2 separate regions of the Homo sapiens genome follow, and region 2 is linked to region 1. Evidence: promoter capture Hi-C in human tissues and cell types (Jung and others, 2019). All regions are on one chromosome and are shown on one strand. Each heading gives the region's core, a stretch centred on a gene start or on the middle of the fragment in contact. The rest is flanking DNA. Distances are from core to core; before and after follow the strand shown. Region 1 holds the start of MORN4 (MORN repeat containing 4). Region 2 overlaps UBTD1 (ubiquitin domain containing 1).

Region 1 (6,020 bases), core at 391-2,890:
CTGATCCAGGGGAGAACTAACTAAGAGTCTGATACCTTTCTAAATCTGATAATAAACACTGGCCAGCCTTGGTGGCTCACACGTGTAATCCTAGCACTTTGGGAGGCAGAGATGGGAGGATCACTTGAGCCCAGGAGTTCAATACCAGCCTGGGCAACATGACAAAACACCATCTCTACAAAAAATACAAAAATAAGCCAGGCATAGTGGAATGAACCAGTAGTCTCAGCTACTTAGGAGGCTGAGGTGGGAGGATAACTTGAGCCTGGGAGGTCAAGGCTGCAGTAAGCCGTGATCCAGCTACTGCACTCCAGACTGGGTGACAGAGGGAGACCCTGTCTCAAAACAAAAAAAAAAATAAAGAAACATTTACAATCTATGCTCTCTGGAGCCTGCTACCTGTAGCCTTCTCTGCATAATAAAAACCTTGATTTCCACAATTCCTTGTGTGTGTGTGTGTGTGTGTGTGTGTGTGTGTGTGCGTGCATATCTTAGTAACAATTCCTTAACTTAACCCAGACATTCCCTTCTGTGGGTTCCAGGTCTTTAAACTCTTTCAACCAATTGTCAATCAGGACATCTTTGAATCCACCTACATCCTGGAACTTGCCACCCCCACCCCCACTTTCGGGACCAAGCCAATGTATATTTTACATGTATTGATTGATGTCTTACGTCTCCCTAAAATGTATAAAATCAAGTGGTGTCCCGACTATTTTGGACACACATTCTTAGGACCTTCTAAGGCTGTGTCACGGGCATGTCCTTAACATTGGCAAAATAAACTCCTAAATTGATTGAGACCTGTCTCAGATACTTTTTGGTTTGCAATTTATTTATTTGAGACAGGGTCTTGCTAGGTCGCCCAGGCTGGGGTACAGTGGCAGAATCATGGCTTATTGCAGCCTCAACCTCCTGGGCTCAAGGGATCCTCCCACCTCAGCCTCCTGAGTAGCTGTGACTACAGGCACCCACCACTAGGCTGGGTAATTTTTTTCTTCTGTAGATACGGAGTCTCCCTGCGTTGCCCAGGCTGATCTAGAACTCTTGGGCTCAAGCCTCCCGCACTCCTGAGCTCAAGCCGCGGCCTCCCGAAGTGCTGGGATTACAGATGTGAGCCACTGCGCCTGGCCAGGTACTATATTTTAAACAAAAAGGATCTAGATAATGACAAGGACAGCACAAATTCCTATAATGAATGCAAAAGTGTCTTGATATCACAATGTCTAGCACAGAGTTATTGGAGGCTATCCTGCCTAGCGCGTTACAATTTACAAAGCTGCCTCTCTGAAGCTGGATTTAGGATCTGCCTTAAACTCCGCGGCGGGGCCCTTGACAGCAGTGGGGACTGGAGCAAGATCAGAGCCGCTCGCGTTGATGGTCACTGTTGCTTCGGGCGCAGGTTTGGTTTTCTTTGGGGTTGCCATTTCAACTAGACGGCCTCTGGGTAGGCCAGATCTGGATCCTCTGTCTTTATCTGCGTTGCAGAGGTGGGACCACCCCTCTTTCACATAGTCAGCCCGGGTTCGCAAACACTCGGCCCCGCACAAAGATGGCGTGGAGCCGGGCTGGGCCAATGCGGAGTGGCGTTGCTCCCGGTTGCCTAGGTAACAGCCAATGGGCAGCGGGAATTGTACCCAGTGCGGTCGCCCAGGATGGCGGCGTCAAGTGGGGCAATCGCTGGTGGAGGTGGCGGAGAGCAAGGTGGCAGCCGGGAGCCCATCAGAGGAAAAGTCCGAGGCGCTGGAACCCTGCGTCCAGGCGTGACGGTCATCCCGAAAGGCCGGCCCCAGGTTGGCTGGAGGCGCAGGAGGGAGGGGGCCGGGAAAGAGTGTGATCGGTCAGGTGGGCACTGAGGAACGGAGCACGAGATGACCCGGCTCGGGGGCGCGGCTCCACCTCGGATACGCTGACCTGAGGGCGGTTGCCTGTGGGGGACCCAAACCTGAACCCTTTAGTCTCCACCGCGGGGGTCGAGGCCCGGGAGAGCTGACTGGACTGGGGTTAGCGAGCAGAGGGTGGAGGGTTGCATCAGGGGAATTGGCAGACCTGTGTGAGCGTTAGACCCTGCCGGGCGGGAGAGCGGGCCCGGATAGCAGGAAGGAACGCGCCTGGAAGGTGAAAATGGGGTGCGAGAAGGTGTTGCCTTGTTGTGGTCTAGGGCTTTGTTTTCCCTGAGCCCGCCTTTATCTCACTGGTGGAGAGAACTCCCACATATGGAAGCCTGGGGAATGGGATGCTTCATTTAGTTGATGGGTGGTATCCCTGCATTCTAGCATCTCTGAACTGCTTAGGTACCAGCAGGAATAACTGCTATATCGGAGTCCAGCCCTGGCATTCCCTTTCCCGTGAAATAGGATAGTATTCTGGCAGTATTACTCCCTAGTCCCAATCACCCCCAGGTCATCATCGCCTTTAAATAAAAAAAAAAAAAAATCTTTTTGGCGCCAGTATTTTCTTCCCACTTTCTTCAATCTAACCATCCCACAGTCTTCCCTAAACGAACCCTTCATATAGCAACGATACATTTCTTTACTTTTCACATGAGGAAAGAGGAGGTTAGACTTATAATGAAAAACAGTTATTTCGAGCTCCTTTTAAAACACTTAAAAAAAAATATTTAGGCCGGGCGCGGTGGCTCACGCCTGTAATCCCAACACTTTGGGAGGCCGAGGCGGGTGGATCACGAAGTCAGGAGTTCAAAACTAGCTTGGCCAAGATGGTGAAACCTCGTCTCTACTAAAAATACAAAAATTAGCCAAGCATGGTGGCACGTGCCTGTAATCCCAACTACCCAGGAGGCTGAGGCAGGAGAATTGCTTGAACCTGGGAGGCGGCGGTTGCAGTGAGCCAAGATCCTGCCACTGCACTCCAGCATGGGGGACAGAGCAAGACTCCGTCTCAAAAAAAAAAAAAAAAAAAAAAAAGGGGAGTATTATTTGACTTTTTGTTCTAGGTTCCTAACAAGGCTAATCTTTGTTCATCAAAGCCTTCATTTTCTTCTCTTTAGGATTCTAAAAGCTTATGAACTGCTTTCTTTATTACTGAAATAATTTGACAAGACTATTGTACCCTGGGAAGGGTGGTTCTGGGGGGACATGTGGGTAGTTAGGGTGGCTGCCTCCACCCAGTATTCTCTAACTGGATCTCCCCCACCGCCCCAACCTTTTGTTTTGTTTTGCTTTTCTTTTCTTTTTTTTGAGACAAGGTCTGGCTCTGTTGCCCAGGCTGGAGTACAGGTGTGGTGCAGTCACTGCTCACCCCGGCAGCCTCAAATTGTGGGCTCAAGCAATCCTCCTACCTCAGCCTCCTGAGTAGCTGGGACTACAGGCATGCACCACCACACCCAGCAAATTTTTGTATTGTTTTGTAGAGATGAGGTCTCACTACGTTTCCCAGCTTGGTATTGAACTCCTGGGCTCAAGCGATCCTCTTGCTTCAGCCTCCCAACGTGCTGGGATTACAGGAGTGAGCCATCATGCCTGGCCCTTTTTCCTCTTTATGTCAGTTTTTTTTTTTTTAATCCTCTTAAATTGGACACAGTTTACTGTGAATACAAAAATGTTGTTTAATACGTTGATTTCTTAAAATTAGAAAACGATAAAAAGAACGGAAACAAAAATTCTCGTTATTGCCTCAGAGTTCTGTTTGGAAATAAGAAAATAATAATAATTAAAAAGAAATGTCTGGGACAAAAGAAAATGAAGATACCAGGAATATGGTATATAGTGCAGACTAATAGTGTGTTGGTTTACAGGGACAGAATAGTAATTTTCTTTTATGTAAATGTTTGGACTGATCCTTTGCAACCCATCTATCAGGAGTGCAGAAAGGGTGAGTGTCTGTTTAGAAGTGTGAATCATCTTGGTTTGTGACTGGATTCCATGGGTGTATCTGTAGCCTAAACTCCTGAGCCATATATTCTCTTTAAAAATATGATTTGGATAACTGATAGAAATACTGATTTGCATCCCTTATTAAAGTATTGGGCCAGACATGGTGGCTCCCACCTGTAATCCTAGCACTTTGGAAGGCTGAAGCAGGCAGATCACTTGATCCCAGGAGTTCAAGACCAGCATGGGCAACGTGGTAAAACCCTGTCTCTACCAAAAAATGCAAAAATTAGCTGGGTGTCGTGGCATGCTCCTGTAGTCCCAGCTACTCAGGAGGCTAAGGTGGGAGGATGGCTTGGGCCCAGGAGGCAGAGGTTGCAGTGGCTGAGATGACGCCACTGCACTCCAGCTTGGATGACAGAGCCAGACTGCCTCAAAAAAAAAAAAGTATTGGGCTTTCAGTCTTCATCGGCACTGACTATACTTTGTTAAACTAGGTTTGTCTCAATGACCATGGTTACTGGTGAAATTCCTTTTTAGGTCAGTAGCTGTAAAGCTATTCATTAGCATGGTTAATTATAAAAGTCATAAAATCCAGACACTGTCCCAAATAGTGACAATATCAACTATTTGGGCACATGTGACAGTTTCTAGCCAAATGTATTCAACCATGGCCTGAGACTCATGGATTCTACACACATTCCCTTTCATTAGCACTTCTGACTGTGGTCTTGGCAATGGACATCATTTTGGCAAGCATTTGCTGAAGGGAATTTGCTATATGTGCCTAAGTCAAAATGGAATGGAAGTTTGTAGTATGTACTGTTGAAAACCAATGGGAGAGGATGGTGGGAGGGTTAGGTTGAAACATGGTATTCCAGTTATTATTGCTGTATAACAAAGTACCCCAGAATTTAGCAGCTTAAAACACCCATACTGTGGCCAGGCGCGGTGGCTCATGCCTGTAATCCCAGCACTTTGGGAGGTTGAGGAGGGCGGATCATGAGATCAGGAGATCAAGACCATCCTGGCTAACACAGTGAAACCTCATCTCTACTAAAAATACAAAAAATTAGCCGGGGCCGGGCACAGTGGCTCATGCCTGTAATCCCAGCACTTCGGGAGGCTGAGGCAGGCGGATCACAAGGTCAGGAGATCGAGACCATCCTGGCTAACATGGTGAAACCCCGTCTCCACTAAAAATACAAAAAAAAATTAGCTGGGCATGGTGGCGGGCGCCTGTAGTCCCAGCTACTGGGGAGGCTGAGGCAGGAGAATGGCGAGAACCTGGGAGGCAGAGCTTGCAGTAAGCTGAGATCGTGCCACTGAACTCCAGCCTGGGAGACAGCAAGACTCCGTCTCAAAAAAAAAAAAAAAAAAATTAGCTGGGCGTGGTGGCGAGCACCTGTAGTCCCAGCTACTCAGGAAGCTAAGGCAGGAGAATTGCTTGAACCCGGGAGGCGGAGCTTGCAGTGAGCCGAGATCACACCACTGTACTCCACCCAGCGTGACAAAGCGAGACTCTGTCTCAAAAAACAAAACAAACAAACAAAAAAAAAACACCCATATGATGCTCATGGATTCTGTGGGTGAGGGAATTTGGACCTGGCACCATGGGGAGGCCTCTCTCTGCTCCCTGATATGGGATGGAATGCAGGCTCAATGGCTGAGGGCTGGAATCATCTGAAGGCTCCTTCACTGATGCCTGGTACGTGGGATAGGATGATTCAAAGGTAAGGGCAGCCAACTGGAACACCAATATATGGCTTTTCTGTGTGGCTTGGCTTTCAGTGTTAGCCTCTGTGTAGTCAGGCTTTTTATGTGGTGGCTCGGGTCTCCAAGTGTGAGTGTATCAGTGACAAGATGGAAGTTGCATCACCTTTTATGATCTAACCTCAGAACACACCACCATTTTCTTTTGAGACAGAGTTTCACTCTTGTTGCCCAGGCTGGAGTGCAATGGCGCGATCTTGGCTCACTTCAACCTCCGCCTCCTGGGTTAAGCAATTCTCCTGCCTCAGCCTCCCAAGTAGCTGGGATTACAGGCATGGGCCACCACACCCAGCTAATTTTGTATTTTTAGTAGAGATGGGGTTTCTCCATGTTGGTCAGGCTGGTCTTGAACTTCCGACCTCAGGTGATCCGTCCGCCTCGGCCTCCCAAAATGCTAGGATTACAGGCATGAGC
Region 2 (5,911 bases), core at 1,598-4,097, 76 kb after region 1:
AGACTGGCCAGCATTAGAGGTGGGTTGGCGATCAGAAGGAAGCCTGGACAGGTCCCTTGTTTCAAAGGTATGACACAAGGTAACCTGTAAGCCAAGGCACCCAGACCAGTTTCCATACATAGTTACAGCTGGTTTTAGACCCCCTTCCCCTCCACAGTAGTTAAAATAACAGCAGCATAAGCAGCTGGCAGAGGCAAGTAAAGACCAGCAGAGAGAAAAAAAGGCCATCTATACCAATTCTAAGTTAATTTAGACTAAACAAGGTCTTATTAATAGCAAAGGATGATTGAAATCCCAAACTTACAAGGTTTTCAACAAAACTGAAGTTTGCTAAAAGTTAACAGTGTAACATGTATTATGGTAACTTCTAATCTTGTGGCCTTAGACAGTCTAGTCCAAAGACATAAAGAAAGTTTGCTTTAAAAAAAGGAATGGTTATCTTCAAAAAAAGGGTGAGGCAGAATTTATGTAAAGAGTGTTATATGGTAAATTCTTGTCCTGAAATAAATTAAGTGGTTGTTTAAAGAAAAAAAAAATGTTTGTAACAAGTCAAAAAGTTGAAACATGTTAAAGAATTGCTGGTGAAAGTCATGAAAGAAAAAATGTTATAAAAAATTTATGCAAAAAATGTTGTATAATTTAAAAGTAATAAGGCCTCCTGAAGACTATTAAAAAAAACAGTTTATGTGCAAGGTGTATGAGAAAAGTAAAATATACTTTTGGTAAAAAGATTATAAAGGGGCATAAAAATGTGGATTTTTATCTACATTAAAAGATTAAAAAAATTAATGTTTTAAAAGTTTAAGCAAGTTTTAAAACGTTAATTATAAAGAAAATTCTGTGTGTAAACATATTAGCTAAAGTTAAAAAGGTATCATCCAGTTTTTCGGTGAACTGGACATTAAAGTAAAAATGCAACAGGTTTTTCTTTAAGCATCAACCTGCTCTTTTACAAAAATTATAAAAGGTTAAAAAGAGTCTATAAAATCTTACCTTATGGTCAAACATGAAAAATTGGATAAATATGTCTACAAGGTTTTATTAAAATTAAGTTTAATATTAATAACACACTAATATAAAGGTAAAATTTAGCTTCTCTGGTATAAAAATCATACAAGAAATATTATTAAATATAAAATGGTGTTGAGTTTTCTTTGGTCTAAAAACTAGTAAAAATTGGTGCTAAAGGAAACATTCATTTTACTAGAGGATCATAAAAGTTAGACTTAAAACAAACTTTGGCAATTAAGACAGCACACCAAGATGCAAATGCCTGGTTGAAATGGATCAAATATTCCATCTGCACTTTAAACAAATGCAATTGTTATGCTTGTGCACATGGCAGGCCAGAGGCCCTGATTGTCCCCCTTCCACTAAGGTGGTCCTCCAGTCGACCAGGCGTGGGCTGCATGGTAGCTCTTTTCCAGAATTCTACAGCCTGGAGTAATAAGTCATGCCAAGCTCTCTCTGCTATATCCCGAAGTCCCTGTGGGTCAGCCCCCGAGGGCCATCCAGCTTCCGTCTCCCAACACTAAGTTCACTTCGTGTCTCTCATGGCAGGGAGGAGACTTAGCATTCCGTGGAGACCTGAAGGGATGCAGCAAGCTTAAGAATTTTCAAGAGCTTATCAATCAGTCAGCCCTTGTTCATCCCCGAGCGGATGCGTGGTGGTATTGTGGTGGACCTTTACTGGGCACTCTGCTGAATAACTAGAGTGGCACTTGTGCTTTAGTCCATTTGGCTATCCCTTTCACCCTGGCATTTCATCAACCAGAGGAAGAAAAAAAATAATAAGACATCGTAAAACGAGAGAAGCCCCTTATAGGTCTTTCAACTCTCACATCTATTTAGATGCAATCGAAGCCCCGCAAGGAATACCAGATCAATTTAAAGCTTAAAATCAAATAGTTAAAAGATTTAAGTCAGTATTTTGGTAAATGACAGTCAATAAAAATGTAAATTAGATAAACTACATCTATTACACCCAACAGCAAGAGCTTTTCATGAGTTAAAAAAAAAAAAAAATTCATGTCGGCCCCAGCCCTGAGGCTACCTGACTTGACAAAACTCTTTACACTCTATGTGTCAGAAAGAGAAAAAATGGCAGTTGGAGTTTTAACCCAGACTGTAGGGTCCTGGCCAAGGGCAGTGGTCTATCTCTCAAAACAACTAGATGGGGTTTCCAAAGGCTGCCCCCACGTCCAAAGGCCCTGGTAGCAACGGCCCTGTTAGCACAAGAAGCAGATAAGCTAACTCTTAAGCAAAACCTAAAGTATGCCCAGGCTGTGGTGACTTTAATAAATACCAAAGGACATCATTAGCTAACGAATGCTAGACTAACTAGATACCAAAGCTTGCTCTGTGAAGATCCCCGCATAACCATTGAAGTTTGCAACACCCTAACCCCGCCACCTTACTCCTGGTATCAGAGAGCCCAGTTAAACATAACTGTGTAGAAGTATTGGATTCAGTTTATTCTAGTAGGCCCAACCACCAAGACCACCCTTAAACATCAGTAGACTGGGAGCTGTACGTGGATGGGAGCAGCTTCGCCAACCCCTGCAAAGTGACTCTGAAGAAGACGACAAGCCCTGCTCCAGTCACACCCAGAAGCTGACTGGTCCACGCACGGCCGAAGCATGAGGAAACTCATCACAGGACTCATTTTCCTTAAAATTTAGACTTGTACAGTAAGGACTTCAACTGACCTTTCTCAGACTGAGAACTGTTTCCAGTATATATATCAAGTCACTGAGGTAAGACAAAAGATTGCCACAGTCCTATTATTTTATGATTATTATAAGTGTACCAGGACTCTAAAAGAAACTTGTTTGTATAATGCTATTCTATCCAAGGTATGTAGCCCAGGAAATAACCAACCTGATGTGTGTTATGACCCATTTTAAGCCTCCCATGATCACAGTTTTTAAAATAAAATTAAGGACTGGTCCTTTTCTAGGTGACACAAGTAAGGTAACAGCTAGAACAGAAGAAAGAGGGGTCCCAAAAATGTAACCTTAAAATTTGATGCTTGTGCCACTATTGATAGTAAGCAGCATAGAATAGGATGCGGTTCTCTAAATTGGAAAAAAAAGTTACACAGTAAAAAAAAATAAGTATATCTGTCAAGAATCATATTTATGTGAGATGTGTCAGTACTGGTCTTGTGTCATTTGGGCTACTTGAAAAGAAGATAAAAAAGATCCTGTTTAGCTCCAAAAAGGAAAAGTCAGCCCCTCCTGCACGAGTGGGAGCTGCAACCTTTTAGAATTGATAATCACAAACCCCTCAGACCCAAAGTGGAATTAAAAAAAAAACATGCAACATTAGGCATTGATGGAAAAGGACTAGATCCTAGTGTAAGCATCCTAATAAAAAGAGAGGTTCAAAAACGCTCTCCAGAAACAGTATTTCAGACTTTCTATGATGAACTAAATGTGCCAGTACTTGAGATTCCAGGAAAAACTAAAAATTTATTTTTGCAATTAGCCAAACATGTAGCCCAGTCTCTACAAGTCACCTCATGTTATATTTGTGTTGGAACCGTAACAGGAGATCAATGGCCATGGGAAGTCCGACACTTAGTTCCTACAGACCCAGTTCCTGATGAATTCTTAGCCCCAAAGAACCACCCTGACAATTTTTGGGTTCTAAAAGTCTCAATTATTGGACAGTATTGCATAGCTAGAGAAGGAAAAGGATTCACTCATCCTGTAGGGCGGCTTAGTTGTCTTGGGCAAAAGCTGTAAAATGGTACCACAAAAACAGTTACATGGTGGAGTTCCAATTACACAGAAAGAAATCCATTCAGTAAATTTCCAAAGTTGCAGACTGTTTGGGCCCACCCAGAATTCCACTGGGACTGGACGGCCCCCGCCAGGTTATACTGGATATGTGGACACAGAGCTTATGCTAAGCTGCCTGATCAGTGGACAGGTAGCTGTGTAATTGGCACCATTAAGTCATCTTTCTTCTTACTGCCCATAAAAACAGGTAAACTTCTGGGCTTCCCAGTCTATGCTTCCCGCGAAAAACGAAGCATAGCCATAGGTGATTGGAAAGATGATAAATGGCCCCCTGAAAAAATCATATAATACTATGGACCAGCCACTTTGGCACAAGATGGCTCATGGGGATATTGAACCCCCATCTACATGCTCAACCGAATCACACAGTTACAAGCTGTTTTAGAAATTATTACTAATAAAACCGGTCAAGACTTGACTGTTCTTGCCTGGCAAGAGACTCTGATGAGAAATGCTATCTATCAAAATAGACTAGCTCTTGAGTACTTGCTAGCAGCTGAAGAAGGTGTTTGTGAAAAATTTAACCTTACTAATTGTTGTCTACACATAGATGATCACAGGCAAGTAGTTGAGGATATAGTTAAAGATATAACAAAACTGGCACATGCCCCCATGCAAGTGTGGCATGGACTCAATCTGGGAGCCATGTTTGGAAATTGGTTCCCAGCAATAGAAGAATTTAAAACTCTTATAATAAGAGTAATAATAGTAATAGGAACCTGCTTACTGCTCCCTTGTCTGATACCTGTATTTCTCCAAATGATAAAAAACTTCGTCACTACCTTAGTTCACCAAAATGCTTCAGCACAAGCATACTATATAAATCACTATCAATCTATTGCACAAAAAGACATAAGTAGCAAAAATAAGAGTGAGAACTCCCACTAATAAAAAGTGAGAGTCTCAAAGGGGGGAAATGAGGGAAGAGAGAGACCCTCTCATATTGTTTTATATGGTTTTATACTCAGTACCCATTTTAAGAAAAAACAACAAGGAAGTAAAACCAAAGACAGGCAGCCCAGCGCCAGGCCCGAAACCACGCCTGGCCTGCCTGGCCTAAACCCAGCAGTTAAAACTCAACTCATAACTTAGAAACCGATGTCATTCATAGATTCCAGACATTGTATAGAAGAACACTGCGAAACTCCCTGCCCTGTTCTGTTTCTCTCTGACCACCGGTGCATGCAGCCCGTCACGTACCACCTGCTTGCTCAAATCAATCACAACCCTTTCATGTGAAATCTTTAGTGTTGTGAGCCCTTAAAAGGGATAGAAATTGTGCATTTGGGGAGCTCGGATTTTAAGGCAGTAGCTTGCCGATGCTCCCAGCTGAATAAAGCCCTTCCTTCTACAACTCGGTGTCTGAGAGGTTTTGTCTGTGGCTCGTCCTGCTACACTGGGACTATGATGGAAACATGAACTCCAATCCCCACCTCACGTGAGCCACAAAAATCAAAACCAGGTTAATCAAAGGCTTAAATATGAGGGACAGAAAGGAGACACTGAAGAAACTGAAGGTTACAATTTCATCTAGATATTTTTTATGAAGTTTAGCCTGGAGGTGTTTATGCCTTGACCAAGGAAGTTGCTCCATTTCATGATTTCTGGACTCCTTTTCTCTTTCATTATTTAGCAGGGATGACCCCCTAATGAGAGCTTTGATCCACCAGGAGTCACAATCATTATACAGTGACTCCCTCAGGGATCCTTGGGTATGGGACTTCTGCCTCTTCCCTAAACAGCTGTTTAGCTTCAATGGCATTTTAAATTCTTGAGCTGATTCTACAGTTTCCCTGCCTCCTTCCTCTTTGCCAGATTGCACTTCTTACTGGTCTCGTCTGTCTGCTGCTCCTAACATGGGGAGAGGGCAGGCCCAGCTCATGGACCACTCCTAATCTACCAAGGGTTGAGAAAGGGCACGACCAAGCTGTCAGCACTGTCTACAAAAGAGGCTTCCCACAGAAGAAAGAGACCAGGCTTTGTGACATTTAAAAATGTTCACTGTTTGGCCAGCATGGTGGCTGACACCTATAATCCCAGCACTTTGGGAAGCTGAGGTGGAAGGATCACTTAAGGCCAGGAGGTCACGATCAGCCTGGGCAACA

Evidence for each region. The method cuts DNA at HindIII sites, captures the fragments that hold promoters and counts their contacts. A contact is called where the count stands out against the background at its distance.
Region 2: a fragment that was not itself captured here is called in contact with the fragment with the promoter of MORN4 in region 1 in 3 of the 25 tissues and cell types used here (aorta, dorsolateral prefrontal cortex and hippocampus).

What each region holds. Positions count from the first base shown.
Region 1 is chr10:97,629,120-97,635,139 of GRCh38, reverse strand. MORN4 (MORN repeat containing 4) reads left to right here and starts at 1,640. Exons shown (of 5, transcript NM_178832.4): 1 at 1,640-1,793. RefSeq lists an enhancer at 1,287-1,376. The HindIII fragment of the contact is 11,879 bases long and covers 1-6,020 here.
Region 2 is chr10:97,554,755-97,560,665 of GRCh38, reverse strand. All of the region lies in intron 1 of UBTD1 (ubiquitin domain containing 1), which reads right to left. The region is part of intron 1 of LOC124902488 (a long non-coding RNA gene); the gene reads left to right. Among named protein-coding and RNA genes, the nearest start is that of ANKRD2, 15 kb to the left of the region's middle. The HindIII fragment of the contact is 5,776 bases long and covers 1-5,735 here.